Linked DNA regions of Homo sapiens: region 2 is linked to region 1. Evidence: promoter capture Hi-C in 16 types of primary human blood cells and fetal thymus (Javierre and others, 2016). All regions are on one chromosome and are shown on one strand. Each heading gives the region's core, a stretch centred on a gene start or on the middle of the fragment in contact. The rest is flanking DNA. Distances are from core to core; before and after follow the strand shown.

Region 1 (3,738 bases), core at 429-2,928:
TTGCTCTGTCGCCCAGGCTGGAGGGCAGTGGTGCGATCTCGGCTCACTGCAAGCTCTACCTCCTGGGTTCACGCCATTCTCCTGCCTCAGCCTCTCGAGTAGCTGGGACTGCAGGCGCCTGCCACCACGCCCGGATAATTTTTTGTATTTTTAGTAGAGACGGGGTTTCACCGTGTTAGCCAGGATGGTCTCGATCTCCTGACCTCGTGATCCACTCGCCTCGTCCTCCCAAAGTGCTGGGATTACAGGCGTGAGCCACCGCGCCCGGCCAAAAAAATTTCTAATACGGCAAATATTGAAAGATATAATCCACATAAACAAAGCTTTTAGGGTCTTCTATAATTTCTAACACTGTAAATGGTTCCCAAGACCCAACTGTTTGAGAACCGCTTCTCTGGGATGCCTTCTTCTTTTCCTGCTGGCTAATCCCAGTGGAGAGATTTAGGTATTTAATTCTGCTCCAGACTCACCTCTGAGAACCTTCCCTGATGGGCCACACTCTACTCACTGCCCTTGCTCTGTATCCCCTCTTCAGTTATGTTGTTCCTGTTTCCCTGGCTGCTTTTAATTTTCTTTCTTTCTTTTCTTCCCGCCTTTTCTTTTCTTTCTCTTTCTTTTTCGTTTTTTGTTTTTTGAGACGGAGTCTCACTCTGTCGCCCAGGCTGGAGTGCAGTAGCGCGATCTTGGCTCACTGCAACCTCCGCCTCCTAGGTTCAAGCGATTCTCCTGCCTCAGCCTCCCGAGTAGCTGGGATTACAGGCGCACGCCACCATGCCCGGATTATTTTTGTATTTTTAGTACAGACGGGGTTTCACCATGTTGGCCAGGCTGGTCTTTAACTCCTGACTTCAAGTGATCCGCCCGCCTTGGCCTCTCAAAGTGCTGGGATTACAGGCTTGCTGCCGCACCCGGCTTGTTTTTTTTTTTTTTTTTTTTTGAGACGGGGTCTCACTGTGTCCCCCAGGCTGGAGTGCAGTGGTGCGATCACAGCTCCCTGCAGCCTCGAACTACTGGGCTCAAGCGAACCTCCCACCTCAGCCTCCCGAGTAGCTGAAACCACAGGAGCGCGCCACGACACACAGCTAACTTTTTTTTTAGTGTTTTTTCTTTTTTTGTTGTTGCCTTTTTTTTTTTTCTTTATCGATCCTCCCGCATTGGCCTTCCAAACTGTTGGGATTACAAGCGAGAGCAGTGCCCGGCCCCTACTGCTTTGAAACCTCGGTTCTTTGCAGGTCCTGGAAAAGAAAGTGAAGGGGTCGTGCAATGGCTCAAAACCCAGGCAACATTTCCAGGCGCGTCCTCAACTCGGCGTCACTCTGACAAAAAGTTTGCCCTTTGCGCCCGATCCCTCACACCAGAGAGCACCGCAGGGACGCAGGGACGGAGAGGACTAATGGGGTCGGGGAGGACCCAAGGAAGTTGGGGAACTCAGACTCTTTTCAGTGTTTAAAAAGCAGAGGCCCCCTCGGAAGGCATAACAGGCGAGTCTAACAATGCCCCTGGAGATCAACGGCACTAAGGGGTACCTTTGCCCCGCTCCAAGGCTCCTTGTTCCGCCCCCTGCCGCCAAGCAAGGAATCCGGCGCCGCCGGTCGTGGGTAGTATTTACGACAGTGCTGGCGCTTTGCGGCCGGCCGCACAGCCGCTGACGCGTCGGGAGGCGGAGCCTAGGGAAGCAAATTCTCCTGGCGGCCTCCGTTCAGACGCGGCAGCTGTGACCCACCTGCCTCCTCCGCAGAGCAATGGCGGTGTCTGCCGGGTCCGCGCGGACCTCGCCCAGCTCAGGTAGGCTTAGGACCCCGCCCTCCGGCGGAGAGTTCCTAGGAGCGCTGGTCTCAGAGGGGCGGGGGCGGGAGGACGCCCAGTGTCTCCCGGTGAGGCGGGGGGGGGGTCCTCTGTGGGGAAGGGGGCGTGCTGTGAGACATTTGCAGCCTGCGGCTTCTGAATGATGATGACATTCGGGAACACTGCGGTTAGGGGACTGTAGTCTGAGGGGTTCTGGGACATTAGGGGATCGTGGAGAGGGGGCTGCACTGCAGGGATGTTTCCTATAGTCAGATCATTGAGGCAACCTCATTGAGCCGACCCGGGTGGGCGGAAGCTCTGAGCTGTTGGTGCAGTGATTTCTTTGATTTGAGGTGGAGCCCACCCCCGCACACATATTTTCTCCATTTATTGATTGCAGATAAAGTACAGAAAGACAAGGCTGAACTGATCTCAGGGCCCAGGCAGGACAGCCGAATAGGGAAACTCTTGGGTTTTGAGTGGACAGATTTGTCCAGTTGGCGGAGGCTGGTGACCCTGCTGAATCGACCAACGGACCCTGCAAGCTTAGCTGTCTTTCGTTTTCTTTTTGGTGAGTCCAGTTTATGGGTGGGAGCAATTTGGTTGAGAGTGGAGAATGACAATCTCTATTTTTTGGTTGCAAGTAGACTTAGCTCCCTTTTCCTCAGAGCTGAAGACATTGGTATAAAAGAAGAGGTCTTTGCGAAGTTTAGGATTAAACCTGCTTTGTCTCCTACAGTTAGGATTTACTTGGTGGCCAGAAATGCTTTTTTTTTTTTCCTTAGACGGACTTTCGCTCTTGTTGCCCAAGCTGGAGTGCAATGGCGCTATCTCGGCTCACTGTAACCTCCGCCACCCGGGTTAAAGCGATTCTCCTCCCTCAGTCTCCCGAGTAGCTGGGATTACAGGCGCCCACCACCACACCCGGCTAATTTTTTATTTTTTTTGTATGTGTGTTTTTAGTAGAGACGGGGTTTCACCATGTTGGCCAGGCTGGTCTCAAACTCCTGACCTCAGGTGATCCGCCTGCCTCGGCCTCCCAAAGTGCTGGGATTACAGGTGTGAGCCACCGTACCCAGCTAGAAATGCTATATGATATGTAGAGGCGAGGCAGCAGTGACCCATTTTGCTTGTGGCATGAAGTTGCCCAGAAGACTCAGAGAAACAGAGCAGGGGGCCACAGGGACCATACCTTTTGGCTGTGACTCCCTAATCAAGAGCTTCTTAACTGAGGCCGCAGCATGGTGTGCTTGGAATGGTTTACAGATGTGCAGAGATATTAGTCCCCTTAGCCCAGTAGTTCTCAACTGGAGGGAGTTTTGCTCCCTGGGAGACATTTGGCAATGTTTAGAGACATTTTTAGTTGTCACAACTTGGGGGAGGAAGAATAGGTGGCTGCTGGCATCTCTATAGAGGTCAGGGAGTGCTCCTAAATGTCCTGTAGTGCATTGGATAATCCCCTCAATAAATAATTAACCAGCCCAAAATGTGACTAGTCCTGAAGTTGAGAAACCCTGCTTTATCTCAAGCTGGCTTCCTGATCTGAGTAGCCTCTTCTGTTTATTCCCAGGGTGTTGACGAAATGCAACTGTTTTTGGAGTGTGCCAGGAAGCAGAAAAGGTTGAGAAGCACTCCCAGAGCACTTTCTTTCTTTCTTTCTTTCTTTTTTTGAGACGGAGTTTCGATCTTGTTGCCCAGGCTGGAGTGCAATGGTGTGATCTCGGCTCACTGCAACCTCCGCCTCCCAGGTTCAAGTGATTCTCCTGCTTCAGCTTCCCGAGTAGCTGGGATTACAGGCATGCGCCACCACACCTGGCTAATTTTTTTGTATTTTAAGTAGAGACGGGGTTTTTCCATGTTGGTCAGGCTGGTTTCGAACTCCCAACCTCAGGTGATCTGCCCACCTCAGCCTCCTAAAGTGCTGGGATTACAGGCGTGAGCCACCGTGCCTGG
Region 2 (3,674 bases), core at 210-2,709, 180 kb after region 1:
GGTATTGCCTATTTAATGATCATATATACTTGCATAATATCATCCCTTCCCTTGATTTCTTTCAATCTAAAAATAAATATGAGAAAAACAGTATGGTAACAACATTATTAACAGAGGACCTGAACTTAGTGTTCATCCATTCTCAGGAACATTCTTTTTTTGAGACGGAGTTTCGCTCTTGTTGCTCAGGCTGGAGTGCAATGGCACGATCTCGGCTCCCACAACCTCTGCCTCCCAGGTTCAAGCGATTCTCCTGCCTTAGCCTCCCGAGTAGCTGGGATTACAGGCATGCACCACCATGCCTGGCTAATTTTGTATTTTTAGTAGAGACAAGGTTTCTCCATGTTGATCTGTTGATCAGGCTGGTCTCGACCTCCCGACCTCAGGTGATCTGCTTGTCTCGGCCTTCCAAAGTGCTGGGATTACAGGCGTGAGCCACCACACCCAGCCCGGGAACATTCTTAAAAAGCCCACTGATTGGCCAGGCATGGTGGCTCACTCCTGTAATCCCAGCATTTTTGGAGGCCGAGGTGGGCACATCACTTGAGGTCAGGAGTTCAAGACTAGCCTGACCAACATGGTGAAACGCTGTCTCTCCTAAAAACGCAAAAATTAGCTAGGTGTACTGGTGGGCACTTGTAATCCCAGCTACTTGGGAGGCTCAGGCAGAAGAATCGCTTGAACTCAGGAGGCAGAGGTTGCAGTGAGTTGAGATTGTGCCATGCATTCTAGCCTGGCAACAGAGCGAGACTCCATCTCAAAAAAAAAAAAAAAAAAAAAAAGCCTACGTATCAAAAAATGGTAAAAATTGGATTTCAGATCTAAATGTCTCCTTTCCTTCAGCAGTTCCCTCAGACCTAAAAAGCATTGTTTAGAGCTAAAATACTGCACTGAAACTGACTAAAACACAGCAGAGGAACTCAGACCTGGACATTTTTCTGCTTCCATTTACAATTTCATTTATCCTCATGCCTCACGTTTGGGCTTAGAAACCTTTGTCTGCTGAAGCAGGAAGACCAGAGTATCTTCTGCGGCTGCTGCTGACCTGGCCCCAACCCTGAAGATTCCAACTGAGTGGTTCTGATGGGGAGAGTCTAAGCATCTGCACTCCCACTGCTATGTGACTTTTCAGGGTGTGCTGCTGGCTGGGAATCAATGCTGTACAGAGCCCACCGCCAGGCCAGCTGTCAGGAAACAGGGGCTCTAGGCCCAGCTTCACCACTTAGGAGCTATGGCTTTGTTCAGAAACATTGTGACTCTCTTACCCACACATTCCTCTGCTGGAAGGGGAGATTGACAAACCAGCATCATCTCTAATTTACTACAAAAGCCCTCACTGGAAATTATTCTTAACTTAGCAGCTGGTAGGATCCATTAAAAAAAAAAAGTAAGTTAGACTGTGTTACTCTGCTGCTCAAAGCCCTGCAGTGCCTCCTCATTTTACCTAGCGTAAAACCTAGAGTCCTTTCCATGGCCTGCTAGGCCCTGCGCCCTCTGGCCCATCATCTACGACCACCTCTCCTACTGCCCTTCCTGTCAGGCCTCTGGGCCCAAACCTGTACGTATAAATCCAGATGGCCTGAAGTAACTGAAGAATGACAAAAGAAGTGAAAATGGCCTGTTCCTGCCTTAGCTGATGACATTACCTTGTAAAATTCCTTCTCCTGGCTCATCCTGGCTCAAAAGCTCCCCAACTGAGCACTGTGACCCCCACCCCTGCCAGCCAGAGAACAACCCCCTTTGACTGTAATTTTCCACTACCTAACCAAATCCTATAAAATGGCCCCACCCCTATCTCCCTTCGCTGACTCTTTTCGGACTCAGCCCGCCTGCACCCAGGTGAAATAAACAGCCTTGTTGCTCACACAAAGCCTGTTTGGTGGTCTCTTCATACAGACATGAGTGAAACTTCCTGTGTTCTTTTCACTCCGGTGGCTTCCCTACTACTCATTACCTATGCTAGACACACTCCTTTCTTGAGACCTTAGTTCTAGCTAATCCCTCTGCCTGGTATGTTCTTCTCCCAGATATCAGCTTGGCTAACATTCCCACCTCCAAGGTTTGGTTTAAGTCTCACTCTCTCATGACAGCTACCCTGACCACCCTATAAAAATACTGTAACTGTCTCTCCACATTCTCTCAACTCTATCCTATTTATTTTTCCTTAGTACTTATTACCTTCTAGAGCACTCTATAATGTATTGATATATTGAGCTTATGGTCATCTCTGCTGGAAGAATCTTTGTTTTATTTACTGATGTATCCCAAGTACCAAGAAGAATAGCACCAAGGGATGCTGAAAAAATATTCATTCAGTGAATGAATGAATCCTAGGTCCCATGAATATGGGATAGACAGATGGCAGGAAACAGGTCAAATTTGTTTTCTAAAATGGAGAGACTATTAAAAAAATAAAATTAGCTGGGCATGGTACGGCACACCTGTAGTCCCAGCCGAGGCTGAGGTGGGAGGATTGCTTGAGCCTGGGAGGTAGAGGTTGCAGTGAGTTGTGATTGTGCCACTGCATTCCAGCCTGGGTGACAGGGTGAGACTGTTTTAAAAAATAAAAATAAAATGGAGGGATTGCTACCTTTTGCTACTTGAGAAAACCATAAAACCCAACCCCAGAGGGCAGGTCCAGACAGAGACAGAGGAGCTACTGAAGCACCTCTGGCCTGTTGGTAAGTCTGTGGCTCACATAACCCATGGAGGTCCATCTCCTCCTCTTGGGCCCGTGGAGGCTAACTCTTCTCTTTCAGGGCCAAGAGATGCTACCCCTGTGCAAGGCATTTCCTCAGGGAGGGCAGAGAGTTGAAACAGCAACAGCACAGCTGTGCTTGCTACTTTTGTACATTGTCTCTAATTTTCCCAATGAGCCAGCTGAAGTTTCTATTGTGAAAACAAAATATCTTGGGTTCCCCAAATCACTAAGCTAAAGGGAAATGTCAAGCTGGAAACTGCTTAGGGCAAACCTGCCTCCCACTCTATTCAAAGTTACCCCTCTGCTCACTGAGATAAACGCATATCTGATTGCCTCCTTTGGAAAGGCTAATCAGATGCTCAAAGAACACAACCATTTGTCCCTTATCTACCTATGACCTGGAAACCCCCTCCCTGCTTTCAGTCATCCCGCTTTTGCTTCCAGTCCTCCCACCTTTCCGGAGGAACCAATGCTCATCTTACATGTGTTAATTGATGTCTCATATCTCCCTAAAACTGTAAAACCAAGCTGTGCTCTGATGAACTTAGGCACATGTCATCAGCACCTCCTGAGGCTGTGTCACAGGTGCGCATTCCCAACCTTGGAAAAACAAACTTTCTAAATTAACTGAGACCTGTCTCAGATTTTCAGGGTTCACATTTTGGTAACCACAGAGGGATTCTGAGTGGAGGTACCCCTGGCCTTTGACAAATCTCCTATCCATGCTTGGTACCAGCATGAGCTAACTTTATGGCTCAAAACAACAGAACAATTTGCTGAGGTCTGGGAGTACACCCTCCAGAGAATCCCTGATCTCCCCAAATTTGTTCAAGATCTTTGGCTGGGCGTGGTGGCTCACACCTATAATCCCAACACTTTGGGAGGCCAAGGCGGGTGGATCACCTGAGGTAAGGAGTTCAAGACCAGCCTGAGACCAGTAGCTTCTCTATCTCTGTCTGGACCTGCCCTCTGG

What was found. Contacts are between HindIII fragments. The CHiCAGO score rates a contact against its expected background, and 5 or more counts as called.
Region 2: a fragment that was not itself captured here is called in contact with the fragment with the promoter of GGCX in region 1 in 2 of 17 cell types (total B cells and erythroblasts); the score reaches 6.5 in total B cells.

The regions. Positions count from the first base shown.
Region 1 is chr2:85,559,433-85,563,170 of GRCh38, reverse strand. GGCX (gamma-glutamyl carboxylase) reads left to right here and starts at 1,678. Exons shown (of 15, transcript NM_000821.7): 1 at 1,678-1,785; 2 at 2,186-2,356. The coding sequence starts at 1,743. RefSeq lists an enhancer at 1,475-1,704. The HindIII fragment of the contact is 2,007 bases long and covers 326-2,332 here.
Region 2 is chr2:85,383,490-85,387,163 of GRCh38, reverse strand. The region is part of intron 11 of ELMOD3 (ELMO domain containing 3); the gene reads right to left. Among named protein-coding and RNA genes, the nearest start is that of CAPG, 25 kb to the left of the region's middle. The HindIII fragment of the contact is 6,667 bases long and covers 1-3,674 here.